2 separate regions of the Homo sapiens genome follow, and region 2 is linked to region 1. The links are contacts of gene promoters, found by promoter capture Hi-C in blood cells and fetal thymus (Javierre and others, 2016). All regions are on one chromosome and are shown on one strand. The core of a region is centred on a gene start or on the middle of the fragment in contact, and the rest is flanking DNA. Distances in the headings are between cores, read along the strand shown. Region 1 holds the start of FAM222B (family with sequence similarity 222 member B). Region 2 overlaps PHF12 (PHD finger protein 12).

Region 1 (7,607 bases), core at 2,579-5,078:
TGGGAGGCTGAGTCGGGCAGATCACAAGGTCAGGAGATCGACACCATCCTGGCTAACACGGTGAAACCCCGTCTCTACTAAAAATATGAAAAGAAATTAGCCAGGCATGGTGGCGGGTGCCTGTAGTTCCAGCTACTAGGGAGGCTGAGGCAGGAGAATGGCGAGAACCCGGGAGGCGGAGCTTGCAGTGAGCCGAGATCGCGCCACTGCAATCCAGTCTGGGCAACAGAGCAGGACTCCGTCTCAAAAAATAATAATAATGATAATAATAAGCCAATAAATATTTATTTTAGCCCCTGGTATGTCAGAGATTCACAGGAAGTCCTTAAATCTCCAAAGTTCCTCTCCCACTTTAGAAAAACTTCTCACACGAAAGGCAATCAAGATACTAGCCCACCCCTTTTTCTTCCCCAGGGAAAGAAATCCTCATTTTGTAAGGTCATTTACTACATAAAAGTAACCACAAGTAGGAAAGATAACAGAAGGAGAGGAGGACAGGAAATTCTCATCACAGCTGAACAAACCTCTATTATTTTAACATAACATGGGTGGCATTTATGCGCTTATTTGAACTGATGGAAATTTCCAGTAGGGGGAAAAATGCATTACCAACATTAAAAATAAATGTCCAACTATTAAAAAATAAAATAAGATAGCTATGCCCAGCTTTAACATTTTATACTCTACTCCATGTAGTAGTCAAACATGGAATAAATTTCTGTAATGACCTATCACAATAGTAACAAATGCTTTATTTTTAAAACTATTATCTTAAACAAAGTATTATAGACAAATAATCTATTGGGACGGTCAAGGAACTAAAGTAAAAAGGTTAAAATTATACATCACTGTGCATTTCCAGGAAAGAAAAGTGAAACACATTTTACCAGACAGAGAAGTTAAAAACAACCAGGTTCATTTTTCCCATTCCTGTAAATTCACTCCCCTTATTTGTGAATCTTCAAGAATCTAGTATAGCCCCTCCCTACCTTTACTCAGGTAAAAGACCAATCACTCATCAATTGCCAAAACGCCTTGACAGTTTAAGGTCTCAATCCTCAGAGTCAGCAAAGCTGAAGTGTCTATGTCCTTTTAAAAGGAGTCTGCATCTCTACTTTAGAAACCATTTTCTCACTGCGCTTGGTGGCTTACGCCTGTGATCCCAGCACTTTGGGAGGCCGAGGCAGGCGGATCACCTGGTTCGAAACCAGCCTGACCAAAATGGCGAAACCCCATCTCTACTAAAAATACAAAAACTAGCCGGGCATGGTGGTGGGTGCCTGTAATCGCAACTACTTGGAGGCTGAGGCAGGAGAACTGCTTGAACCCGGGAGGTGGAGGTTGCAATGAGCCGAGATTGCGCTACTGCACTCCAGCCTGGGCGACAGAACAAGACTCTGTGTCAAAACAAAATAAAATAAAAAGAACCCATTTTCTCTTTCCATAAACACATAGTTTGTCCTCTGCTTTGTCTACATTAAAAAACACGTCTCAGGAGTGTTTCTTCAGCCTCTCAGGAAAACCAAGACACCTCTTGGGCTCCTCTTCTGAGATATTCCACCTGAGAGATCCCACTGACAAGCAGGGTAACAAAAAGCAGAGCTAGAGGGCTGCCTTATGCATATCTGACCTCCAAAACAGCGACAGGTCCCCGGAGCAGCCAGAGACTCCTTTGCAAAGGAGAACTTTTTATAATTTAAAAATAATAAAATGGGCCAAGCACGGTGGTTCACGCCTGTAATCCCAGCACTTTGGGAGGCTGGGGCGGGCGGATCACCTGAGGTCAGAAGTTTGAGACCAGCCTGTCCAGCAATGGAGAAACCCCGAGTGTACTAAAAAAAATACAAAAATTAGCCGGGTATGGTGGCACGTGCCTATAATCCCAGGTACTAGGGAGGCTGAGGCAGGAGAATTGCTTGAACCCAGGAGGCGGAGGTTGCAGTGAACCAAGTTCGCACCACTGCACTCCAGCCTGGGTGACAGAGCAAGACTCCTTCACCCACCTCAAAAAAAATTATAATAAAATAAAATAAAAATAAAGATAACAAAATAGCCAGGCACGGTGGCTCACGCCTGTAATCCCGGCACTTTGAGAGGCCGAGGTGGGTGGATCACCTGACGTGAGGAGTTCAAGACCAGCCTGGCCAACATGGTGAAACCCCATCTCTACTAAAACTACAAAAATTAGCCAGGCGTGGTGGTGGGCATTTGTAATCCCAGCTACTCAGGAGGCTGAGACAGGAGAATCGCTTGAACCCGGGAGGCGGAGGTTGCTGTGAGCCGAGATGATGCCACTGCACTCCTGCCTGGCGACAGAGCGAGACTCCGTCTCAAAAATAAAATAAAATATAATAAACAAATTATATTTTCACATCCCTCACTGGGCAGCCCTCCCAGCTTGTCTCAAACTAGTTTTCTTAACTCTTTTTTCCAGACGGAGTCTCGCACTGTCACCCGAACTGGAGTGCAATAGCACTATCTCGGCTCACCGCAACCTCTGCCTCCCGGGTTCGAGTGATTCCCCTGCCTCAGCTTCCCAAGCAGCTGGGATTACAGGCGCCCGCCACCACACCCGGCTGATTTTTTGTATTTTTAGTAGAGACGGGATTTCACTACGTTGGCTAGGCTGGTCTCCAACTTCTGACCTCGTGATCCGCCCGCCTCGGCCTCCCAAAGTGCTGGGATTACAGACATGAGCCACTGCACCCGGCCTTTTCTCAACTCGTTAAAGCACATTAGTGCCAACTGTGTTATAAGGCAACATGAGTTAGCTATGTTCAGAAAATATTTTAATAGATTGGCCCTCCATCCTTTCGGGTGAGGAGCTGCAAACCGTTTGTAAAAACGCCGGAGTACGGTATTTTTCCTACAGAAGTCTGATGGCTAATTTATCACATTACAGAACTGGTAGTTCTGCACATGGTCTGCTGTGCCCATAAAGAAAGCACATATGTGTCTACTGAGGTTTTACAAACAATACGCTTCTTATCTTAACAGAGAAATCAGTCATTCCATTAACAACGGTAAGGTCTAAATTCCACTAACATTGTTGGTGATACATTAACATCAACATAGTACTTACAATTCACAATTTGCATAAACAATCTCAATTACATAGGTGATGCTTGCAATAGCCCGTTTGAAGCATGACATCTTCCTGGTGTTCAGAAAGGTTAAGTGGGACCTGCCCAAGGTTACCTAACAGCTTTATCAATGGTGGACTTCCTTTCGAACCTGCCTGACTCTAAGCCCCTAGCTCTTTTCCCTAGACCCCTCCCGGCTTTCAAAAGAGGGTTCCCGACTCCCATCCTCTACCCAGAGCAGCCTATTACTCCGGGAGACCGACCCTTCCCCTGCCTGGTTCAGAGGTGGCTTCTTAAGCTCCAGCAGAGCTTTCATCCTCCACCACCCTCCCCCCGCAATCATTCTCTGAAAGAAGCGGAAAGGAGAGGCGACCAAAAGCTCCTGGAGGAAGGGATGATACAAATGGGCTGCTTCACTCCACAGCACGCAACCCCGTCCCCCTCCACCAAGCTGTCCAGCTCTGCGGCCGGCGACCGGGCCACCCGTGCCCCAAATTCTCCCATCATCACCTCAAACTGTACCTCCCCCACGCCCTTCCGTCTCCCACAGTCAGAGCCCACCCCACAAAGTCATGTATCCTTCCGCTAAGTTACCCTCTTCCCACGCGTTGTCCACTCCCCCTCCACCACTACTCACGGTCGGTGACTGGGCCCGGCCCTCATGGCTGCTCCTTTGCCGCCCGCCGCCCGCCGCCACCACTTCTCCACTGCCCGGCCCCTCAGTCACCGGCGCAGCTGTGGGGACTACCCGGAGCCGCTCCTGCGCCTGCGCAGCGTGTAGCGCCTGGGCCCTTTCGGGCCGCACGCGCCTGCGCAGCCCCTGCCGGGGGCGTCTTCCTCAGTGCCTGATGGTCTGGACCCCTGGGTCTCTAGTGGACATGGGAGCTGGCCTTGAAGAATTCTGAGGCTTAGAGAATTTGGCGGCTGCCTCAGGGTACGCCTCTGGAGTACCGTGCCTAGGTTACTAAACCCTTGGATCGCGCTTCCCCAAGGAGCCACAGACTTACTGGCTCTTCCAGAATTCTGCATCCTACTTGCACTTAAAGGCCTGAATTCAGGTGCTCTGAGGTGACCACTGATGATAAATTTGGGTCTTTTTTTTTTTTTTTCTGAGTCGAAGTTTCGCTCTTGTTGTCCAGGTTGGAGTGCAATGGCGTGATCTCGGCTCAAACAACCTCCGCCTCCCGGGTTCAAGCGATTCTCCTGCCTCAGCCTCCCGAGTAGCTGGGATTACAGGCATGCACCACCACGCCCAGCTAATTTTGTATTTTTAGTAGAGACGGGGTTTTATCATGTTGGTCAGGCTGGTCTCGAACTCCCGACCTCAGGTGATCCACCCACCTCAGCCTTCTAAAGCGCTGGGATTACAAGCATGAGCCACCGCGCCCAGCCTGGGTCTTTTTTTTTTTTTTTTTTTTTTGAGACGGAGTTTTGCTCTTGTTGCCCAGGCTGGAGTGCAGTGGCGCGATCTCAGCTCACTGCAACCTCCGCCTCCCGGGTTCAAACGATTCTCCTGCCTCAGCCTCCTGACTAGCTGGGATTACAGGCTTGCACCACCACGCCTGGCTAACTTTTGTATTTTTAGTAGAGACGGGGTTTCACCATGTTGGCCAGGCTGGTCTCGAACTCCTGACCTCAGATGATTCGCCCGCCCCGGCCTCCCAAAGTGCTGGGATTACAGGCCTGAGTCACCATGCCTGGTAAAATTTGGGTCTCTTTCAAGATGATCGTGTCTAGAATGTATCGGGGGTAATTATGTAAAGGCAGCTTTGCCATCCTAGAATACGCTACTAGCTAGGAGGTGCAATGAAGTCCTGGGGACCTTGTCAAGGAGGTGACCTCGCCTAGAATGCACTGGGGACACCGCTAAGTTCAGTATGTTTATCAAGCACATGCTGTTTATTGGACAGAAATGTTCTAGGCATCGCGTGTATGCTATTGAGGAATTCGCAGGCAAATAGTCCCCTGCTTTCCAGCTCTCACTGTGAGCCTGGCCCTTTTTCAAACTGGTAAAAGAAAACCACTAAAGTCCAGTGAGGCCCAACTGTCAGTCCCTAGACTACTGTGCTGCTTTGGCATAGCCTGACAAGAGACTAAGCTCAATCGAGTCCTGAGAATTCAACAAAACAGACTTGAAAGCAGCAGGCAAGAGGAGGTACAGGACTAAACTCTCTCCTCATCACCATGGCTCTTTTTTCTCTCTCAACTCCAGCGCTGGTCTCCTCTCTTCAGAGTTTGGACACATAAGGCCCAAGATACAACGTAAGGGGGAAAAAGAGAAGAAAAAAAGACAAGTTGAGTGCTCAATGAGGAATGTTAAAAAAATTTAAATAGGCCAGGTGCAGTGGCTCACGCCTGTAATCCCAGCACTTTGGGAGGCCGAGGCGGGCGGATCATGAGGTCAGGAGATCGAGACCATCCTGGCTAACACGGTGAAACCCCGTCTCACTAAAAATACAAAAAATTAGCCGGGCGTGGTGGCGGGCGCCTGTAGTCCCAGCTACTCAGGAGGCTGAGGCAAGAGAATGGCGTGAACCCGGGAGGCGGAGCTTGCAGTGAGCCGAGATCAAGCCACTGCATTCCAGCCTGGGCGACAGAGCGAGACTCCGTCTCAAAAGAAAAAAAAATTAAAAATAAAGCTGGGCATAGTGACTTATGCTTGTAATCCCAACATTTTGGGAGGCCAGGTTGGGAGGATTGCTTGAGCCCAGGAGTTAGAGACCAGCCTGGGCAACATAGGGAGACTCATCTCTACAAAAAATCTAAAAAATAGTGGCCAGGCAAGATAGCTCATGCCTGTAAACCCAGCACTTTGGGAGGTTAAGGCGGGCGGATCACTTGAAGCCAGGAATTCGAGACCAGCCTGGCCAACACGGTGAAACCCTGTCTCTACTGAAAAAATACAAAAATTATCTGGGCATGGTGGCATGCACCTGTAGTCCCAGCTACTCAGGAGGCTGAGGCAGGAAAATCGCTTGAACCCAGGAACGGAGGTTACAATGAGCCGAGATCGCACCACTGCACTCCAGCCTGGATAACAGAGTGAGACTCCATCTCAATTAAAAAAATAAATAGGGCCGGGCGCGGTGGCTCAGGCCTGTAATCCCAGCACTTTGGGAGGTCGAGGTGGGCGGATCACGAGGTCAGGAAATCGAGACCATCCTGGCTAACACGGTGAAACCTCATCTCTACTAAAAATATAAAAAATTAGCCGGGCATGGTGGCGGGCCCCTGCAGTCCCAGCTACTTGGGAGGCTGAGGCGGGAGAATGGCGTGAAGCCCGGAGGCAGAGCTTGCAGTGAGCCAAGACGGTGCCACTGCACTCCAGCCTGGGGACAGAGCGAGACTCCATCTCAAAAAAAAAAAATACAAAAATACAAAAAAATTGGCTGGGCGTGGTGGTGGGCGCCTGTAGTCCCAGCTACACGGGAGGCCGAGGCAGGAGAATGGCATGAACTGGGAAGCGGAGCTTGCAGTGAGCCGAGATCGCGCCACTGCACTCCAGCCTTGGCGACAGAGCGAGACTCTGTCTCAAAAAAAAAAGGAAAAAAAGAAAAAATAAATAAATAGGCCAGGCACAGTGGGTCACACCTGTAATCCCAGCACTTTGGGAAGCCGAGGTGGGCAGATCATAAGGTCAGGAGATCGAGACCATTCTGGCTAACACGGTGAAACCCCATCTCTACTAAAAATACAAAAAATTAGCCGGGCATGGTGGCGGGTGCCTGTAGTCCCAGCTACTTGGGGGGCTGAGGTGGGACAATCAATTGAACCCGGGAGGTGGAGGTTGTAGTGAGCCAAGATTGCGCCACTGCAATCCAGCCTGGGTGACAGAGCAAGGCTCCATCTCAAAAAGAAAAATAAATAAATAAATAAGGGTTGGGCCTGGTGGCTCACGCCTGTAATCTCAGCACTTTGGGAGGCCAAGGCGGGTGGATCACGAGGTCAGGAGATCGAGACCATCCTGGCTAACACGGTGAAACCCCGTCTCTACTAAAAATACAAAAAATTAGCTGGGCATGGTGGCGGGCGCCTGTAGTCCCAGGTACACAGGAGGCTGAGGCAGGAGAACGGCGTGAACCCAGGAGGTGGAGGTTGCAGTGAGCCGAGACCATGCCACTGCACTCCAGCCTGGGCGACAGAGCAAGACTCCATCTCAAAAAAAAAAAAAAAAATTAGCTGGATGTGGTGGTGCACACCTGTGGTCCCACCTACTTGGGAGGCTGAGGTGGGAGAATCACTTGAACCCAGGAGGCAGAGGTTGCAGTGAGCCTAGACTACACTACACCGCAGCCTAAGGAACCGAGTGAGACTGTGTCTCAAAAAAATTTTTTTAATTAAAAAAAAAATGTTCAGGCCAGGTACGGTGACTCACGCCTGTAATGTCATCACTTTGGGAGGTGGAGTAGGCGGAGTTTGAGACCAAGCTGGGCCACATGGTGAAAACCCGTCTGTACAAAAAAATTACCAAAAAATTAGCCGGGTGTGGTGGCCCGCATCTGTAGTCCCAGCTACTTGGGAGGC
Region 2 (7,607 bases), core at 2,455-4,954, 82 kb after region 1:
AGGCTGGAGTGCAGTGGCGTGATCACAGTTTAGCCTCCAGGGCTAATCTGCTTAAGCCTCTGGAGTAGCTGGGACTACAGGTGCGTATCACCATACCTGGTTCATTAAAAAAATTTTTTTTTGTAGAGACAAGGTTTCACTGTGTTGCCCAGGTTGGTCTCAAGCTCCCAGGTTCAAACAATCTGACCGCCTCGGCCTCCCAGATTGCTGCGATTACAGGCATAAGCCACCGTGCTCGGCCTCAACACAGTTCACAGTACTCCTGTACTGTGATTCTTCAGAAAATTTGTTAACACATACACATTCAAGGCTCTCGTCAGTCCATTAGTTAGTCTCCATGTACTCATACTATCAGAATATGGGCTGTTCACATTTAACATACATGGTCTGGAAGAGGTGATGAGAGAAAAAGTATCATCTGCTAAATAATGAGAAAGAGCCCCTTAGTATGAAAGAAAATACCTGTTACACGTGAAGCAGACTTTGACGGGTAAGGGAACGAGACCATTGTGATCTAATTCATGCTGTGTCTTCTTAACATTTTTCCCTGTGGTTTCCTCCTTTCTTCTCCTCTTGCTAGAACCTAGAAAAGAAAATGATGGTGCTGAGCTATCCCTGGCTTCAGAGTTCCTAGCCTGCAATATGGAAACAACATTAAGTGACAAAAACAGATCTTAAGCATGTGTCATGGCCTAAGCATGAATTGCTCTCTGAGGCCCCTGGGGTTGATTTTAAGTTAGAAAAAAGAAAGATTAGGGAGGAAAAAAAAAGAGACTAATACGTAAGTCAGAACCAGAAGTCACCTGTTCTATGGCAGAAACACATCTAACTGTTTTGCAAACATAAAATGGTCAGAAATGCTAGGTTAGATACAGGCAACCTAAGAAATGTAAATGTCCAAGCCACATAGTCAACAAGGACTATTCTGTGGAGTTGGCCTGCAGTCTTGAACTACTGGGCTCAAGCAACTTTCCTGCCTCAGCCTCCATATGAGCCAGGACTACAGGTGTGGGCCATCAAACTCAGCTAACTTTTTTATTTTTATTTTTTGAGAGATGGGGTCTCATTATGTTGCCAAGACTGGTCTCCAATTCCTGGCCTTAAGCAATCCTCCTGCCTTGATCTCTCAAAGTACTAGGATTACAGGTGTGAGCCACCACACCTGGCCCACATTTTCATAAAAATCAGAGAAGCTTTGATTCTATATGCATCCTTCTTAAGCCTACCAATTTCACTTTCTTTGGGAATAAAAACTAAGACCTAGAAGCTTTACAGTATCAAGAAGCCAGGACTTAAAAAAAAAGAATGGAGGACAATTTGGCAATATCTATCAAAACTATATAGTTTTGACCCAGCAATTTTATTGTCCTATAGACATAGTCACACATCTATACATGTATATAATGATGTATTTACAAAGTTATTCTCTGAAGCACTACCAGTAGTAATGAAAGATTTGGAACCTAAATGTCCATTAATAGAAAATGTCCATTAATAGAAAATGGCACTGGTTAAATAAATTATGACGTATCTGTACAAAGAACTACTATGCAACCATTAAAAAAAGCAAGAAGGCCAGGCGCAGTGGCTCATGCCTATAATCCCAGCACTTTGGGATCCTCTGAGGCGGGAGGATCGTGTGAGCACAATTTGAGACCAGCCCTGGCAACATAGTGAGACCCTGTCTTTATAAAAAATATAAAAATTAGCTGAGTGTGGTGGTGTACAACTGTGGTCCCAGCTACTTGGGAGGCTGAGGTGGGAGGATTGCTTGAGCTGTGGTCACACCACTGCACCACAGTGCAGTGCAGCCTCTGTCTCAAAAAAAAAAAAATTCTATATTAATATGAAAAGACTTCTAGAACATATTTTAAAGTGAGAAAAAAAAAGCAACGTGTAGAATGGTTTAACTAGCATGTTACTTAAGGGAAAATTAATCAGCATATATCTGTATTTGCTTTTACATGCACAAAGAAATTTGAGAAGAATAAACAAGAATCAACCAGTGGTTACCTGTGAAGAGCAGGAAGGTGGAAAGTAGGCAAATGGCAGACGGGTGGGAGGGAAATTTTCATTGTAGCCCTTAATATTTTTTGATTTTTGAACCATGTGAATGTATAATACTTTTTTTTTTTAAAAGATAATTCTGGGGCCGGGCGTGGTGACTCGCACCTGTAATCCCAGCACTTCGGGAGGCCGAGGTGGGCAGATCACCTGAGGTCAGGAGTTCAAGACCAGCCTGAACAACATGGTAAAATCCTGTCTCTACTGAAAATACAAAAATTAGCCAGGCATGGTAGCATGCGCCTGTAGTCCCAGCTACTTGGAAGGCTGAAGCACGAGAATCGCCTGAACCTGGGAGGCGGAGGTTGCAATGAGCCGAGATCGTGCCACTGCACTCTAGCCTGAGTGACAAAGTGAGACTCACAAAAAAAAAAAAAAAAAAAAAAGGAAAAAGATAATTCTGGGGGAGGGGAAGGAAAGAAGTTCAGAAACTGAGAAAATGGAAAACTGAGTAAGCTCTGTAATGGCTAAGACCTTCAAAGATCTCTCCAAGCAGAACTAGGAACAGGAACCCAAGACAGTAGCTACATGAACAGTGACTCCACAGGCAGCACTGCTCTTGTGCTGGTCCTTTGGGGAAACTGGGGTTGGGAAGGGATATGATGATGGTTTGGCTGACCTGGTAGTGCAGTGGTACAAGTCAGTTCATTGGGCAACTGAAATTGGGTGGGGTTCCGCTCCATGGCGGCAGCAATCAGCAGCTCAAAGGGCCGCCTCAGCTGGGGCTGCACATAGTCTGGCTCCGCTGCTACTGGTTCCTCATCCACGTCAATGATGTCTTCGTCGACATCATTCTGCTCAGAGGTGGGAGTCTCTGTGCTGGCGCTGGATGTGGGTGTGCCAGGCCTGCTGGCTCTCCTTTCCAGGATCCGGGCATGGGCAATGGCCTTTAGTTCAGTTTTGCTGGCCGATCTGTCCAACAAGTCAGTGTCACTGCTGGGGGATGTAGTCCGTTTGCCAGATTTGTCCACCAGTCCATTGACATGACCCAGCTCCTTTTTCTGCTCTCGTTTCTGTGCAAATGAACAGGTGGGCCCATCATGAAAAGTACCATGAAACAAAGAGATGGGTGCTACAAAGTCCTGGTAGACCACTAATCAAAACTGTAAAAGGCCTTCACATATCACAGACTCATCTACCTGGTCACTTGGAACACTGGTCTGTTAAAGTTGACACAACTCTAACTGAACTAAAGCTGACAAAACTGTTGCATCAGAGAATCACCAAAAAGCATGGTAAGTTAGGAATAACTATACAAAATATATATCATTAACATTAACTCATTGTATGACATACAACATCTATAAAGTATAGGGTAAAGGGCTAAAAAGGTAACACAGTGAGAATAAATTTAGTGAGACCAATAGTAAAAATCAATGGGGCAGGCACGGTGGCTCACGTCTGTAATCCCAGCACTTTGGGAGGCCGAGGCAGGCAGATCACCTGAGGTCAGGAGTTCAAGACCAGCCTGGCCAACATGGTGAAACCCCATCTCTACTAAAAACACAAAAATTAGCTGGGTGTGGTGGCATGTGCCTGTAATCCCAGCTACTCAGGAGGCTGAGGCAGGAGAATCGCTTGAACCTGGGAGGCAAAGATTGCAGTGAACTGAGATTGCGCCATTGCACTCCAGCTTGGGCGACAGAGCAAGATTCCATCTCAAAAAAAAAAAAAAAAAAAATCAGTGAGATCACTATAGAGCCTTCTGACCTCCTGAATGGTTTTAAAAATAAAAACTTTGCTCAAAATAAGTGACACTTCTTAGAAAGTGGGGAAATGGAAAAAGATTAAGTGTACTCAGTAGGACTGGATATCTGATAGTACATTTTCCTCCAGGACTCCAAATAGAGTGGTCAAATGAAGGTTTAACACTGATCTCCAGGTAGGAGACCTGTGATCTTGTCCTATTTCTGCCACGGATCCCCTCTGACCTTGTGGTGACTCAGGCTGGTGGGCAGGAATTTCTTCATCTGTAAAATGAGACAGAAAAATCTTTCTCCTCCTCCTCTCAGGGATATGGTGGAGGGAGATAAAAAGGGTCATATATACGAAAGGGATAATTTGGAGTTGGAGTAGGACCTAGTCTTCCACTACGAATCATGATAGGGCCTGAATGTCAGGAGCTGATGAAGGCCAGAGGATGTATTATTTCAATCCACTTCAGTGTAAATACAAGAGGCCAAAGGGGAGTAGTGCTGGTGATGGTGGAAAAGGCAGACTTGGCACTGGTAGGCAGAGGTCCATGTGAAAGGTAAGAGAGGCATCTCAGGAGAAGTGCCATGTTAGAAAAGGGCATACTGTAATCCCCAACAAGTAGCTCTCCTTCTAGAAAACTGATGAAGAGGTAACAGAGGTTTGGAATGAGAGAATTTGGTTCAAACATTGGTTCTGTCAATACCTTTGAGTCCTTGGGAAAGTTAATCTACATTTTTGAGCCTCCGTTTCTTCCTTTCTAAAATGGAAACCTACGGCCAGCATTCGGTATCCATCTATGGCTGGATGGATAGATAATGGGATAACGTAATTAAAACACCTGGCACACGATGGGCACTAACATAATATTTCCTTTTCTCCACCGTCTTTACCCCTTTTCCTTCAGCTCCCCTAAACCTTTTCAGGTCCAGCTTTTTTGAGTGGCAAGTTTGAGAGGGCTCCTGGCTGGCAGGTGCCTCTAACAGGCCCTGCTCTAACCTAATTAGGGATGCACAGGAAAGGATCTTGGAAGGTGGAGAGGCTGGAAGACAGCCTGGTTTATGGAGAAATTTAACTACAGCTGTGGTTAGGTGGTTGACCTGGCTTTGGCTTGCTTTTAAATATGAACCCTTATGCACGTATTTGAAAAATAATGTCTGCTTGTTTACTTTCTTTCTTAAAGGCTGAAACTGTTACACACATAAACCACAATCTTAATCATCTCATCCTGTTTCTGCAACCAAGGAAGTCATCATTCATTGTGACATCATGTTCGGGGACCAGGCAAATAGAGGTGAGGTCACAACATAGGAAAGTTGCTTGGTGTATAATTAGTGTGGGGAGCACAGGGGGGTGGATTACAATGCACAGACAAATTCTAATCCATAGCCTGTAATTTGAGGGTTGGGTCAATCATAATTTGGGTGCAAGCACACCTACTTCCTTTTTTAATAAGGGAGAATTTAGCTCTTGTTACCCACAAGAGTTCTCAAAGTAGAAAATAATAAACCATGTTCTTGAAGCCAGTACTGAATTATCAAAGCTGAAGGAAGGGAAGCTAAAGAAAGATTAGGCAACTTGGGGTACAAATGCGTTCAAAATCCTCTCCGTCAGTATGCCAAGTCTCTGGATACCAGTGACTTATTTGCCCTGGGGTGAGAGAAAACTCCATTTTCCATCAAGCTGGAGAAGCAGCCTTTGTTTTTCAGCCATGGATAAGGCCACTTATTAGGAGGACAACAAGAAGGTAAGACTACTCCTGTCACTAGTGACTAAACATGGCTCAGTAAGTTAACACACCTCTTCTGCCCATTTCAGCAGCCCATGTTTGGATTTTTAGGCCCTACTGGATTCCAAACAGTCACCATGGGAAGAGTGGGGTGATTCCAGGGCTGGAAGAGACAAGAAGAAGGGACAAGAATGCCTTCAGGGCTAGGCCGTCTTAGCTCTAGCATATCAGTGCTCTGGATCAGGCTTTCTGGACAGTCTTCAGAAAGCAGCATTATTACCTTTCGGCGAACAGTGCACCGGTGACACATCCACTCTCCAGGAGGCAACATTTCTTCACTCAGTGGAGGGTTACTGTGGGGAACAGACAAGGGCAAGACTAAATAACTAGCCCTTTGAGGCAGTAGGAAAAGCCTAGCTAGGTTTGCATGTTCCTAAACTCCTATTGTGGCCAGTCCTGCAGGACTGCTAGGGTTGTCTCCTCCAAAATGCCTAAGTCAGCATCACTCATAATAACCTAAGGAGTGACCATCCCTTCCCACACCTTAGAGAGAGAAGCCAAATCCAGAGCTATTAACACTGGGTTTGTAGGGAAAGGTATAATAAAATAACTGAGAGGTCCTCCACACTGTTTTCTTAAAGCCTGTTAGTGTAGAGCCAAGCTTTTCTAACTGCTGTTCAAAGCCCTGTCACATGGTCCCACCGTTCCATCTTCCCAGACCCCTTCAGGTGCTCTTCCCACTATTCAAATGGAAGACTTCCTATTTCTTCCTCTAGAATACTCTTCCTTTAGAAAGCTATGCCTGTCAAAACTCTATTCATCCTTTCATACCTGCCTCAATCAGCTGTGATGGATTAAAGACAGCTGCAAATTATCTGCTCTGCCTCCCATCCACAGGTAGTCCCTTTCCCTCCTCTTGAATTGTGCTTGTCTTATGACTTGCTTTGACCACAGAATGCAGCAGAGGTGACAATGTTGCAACTTCCAAAGCTTGGCCTTAAGAGATCTGCAGATTCTATTTTTTAAGAAATATGCTTGGAAAGTTCCATCTCAGAGCCCTGCTGTCATGCTATGAGAGAGGACATGGAGGAGACAAGGTATTCCAATCAACAGTTTTGGGCTGGGCGTGGTGGCTCACACCTGGAATCCCAGCACTTTGGGAGGCCGAGGCTGGTGGATCACTCGAGATCAGGAGTTCAAGACCAGCCTGGCCAACATGGCGAAACCCCATCTCTACTAAAAATATAAAAATTAGCCAAATATGGTGGCACATGCCTGTAATCCCAGCTATTTGGGAGGCTGAGGCAGAAGAATTGCTTGAATTTGGGAGGTGGAGGTTGCAGTGAACCAAGATCACACCACTGCACTCTAGCCTGGGCAACAGAGTGAAACTCCATCTTGAGAAAACAAAAAACCAGCTTCAGCTGAACTCCAAGCCAACACGCAGCAGCAACTACTGCTATGTGAGTGAGTCATCTTGGACTTACCAGTTCAGTGAAGCCTCCAAATGACTGCAGTCCCAGCCAACATCATGTGAAACAGAAAAACCACCCAGCAGAGCCCAGGCAACCCTCAGAACTGTGAGAGATAATAATGAGTTTCTGTACCAGGCCAATGAGTTTTGGCGTAGTTTGTTATGCAACAATAGATAACCAAACAGCTTTTCCATGAGTTCATATTACTCCTGTATCTTGGACCTCTTGCTGCATGGGTTAGTTCTCTTTTGGCACTTCTCATGCTTTGCCCATTTCAGCAGTTCTCTTACTTATTTTATTAGAGGGACTAGGACAATGATTGGATCTCTTCCCTCCTTGTATTTTTATAATACAGAGGTTGTGCACACAGCAGATCACCTGAGATTGGAAGTTCAAGACCAGCCTGGCTAACACGGTGAAACCCCATCTCTATTACAAATACAAAAATTAGCTGGGCGTGGTGGTGGGCACCTGTAATCCCAGCTACTTGGGAGGCTGAGGCAGGAGAATCCTTTGAACTCGGGAGGCGGAAGTTGCAGTGAGCCAAGATTATGTCATTGCACTCCAGCCTGCGTGACAAAACTCCATCTCAAAACAAACAAACAAACAAACAAACCAAACCAAAAAACAGGCCAGGCATGGTGGCT

What was found. Contacts are between HindIII fragments. The CHiCAGO score rates a contact against its expected background, and 5 or more counts as called.
Region 2: a fragment that was not itself captured here is called in contact with the fragment with the promoter of FAM222B in region 1 in 1 of 17 cell types (activated CD4 T cells); the score reaches 6.2 in activated CD4 T cells.

The regions. Positions count from the first base shown.
Region 1 is chr17:28,838,962-28,846,568 of GRCh38, forward strand. It overlaps FAM222B (family with sequence similarity 222 member B), which reads right to left and starts at 3,829. Exons shown (of 3, transcript NM_001077498.3): 1 at 3,721-3,829. RefSeq lists an enhancer at 3,408-3,922 and a silencer at 3,608-3,797. The HindIII fragment of the contact is 18,789 bases long and covers 1-7,607 here.
Region 2 is chr17:28,921,226-28,928,832 of GRCh38, forward strand. It overlaps PHF12 (PHD finger protein 12), which reads right to left. Exons shown (of 15, transcript NM_001033561.2): 3 at 5,766-5,838; 4 at 2,684-3,077; 5 at 463-583. It overlaps LOC101927018 (a long non-coding RNA gene), which reads left to right and starts at 5,050. Exons shown (of 2, transcript NR_110803.1): 1 at 5,050-5,503. RefSeq lists enhancers at 4,802-4,851, 4,872-5,051. The HindIII fragment of the contact is 4,879 bases long and covers 1,266-6,144 here.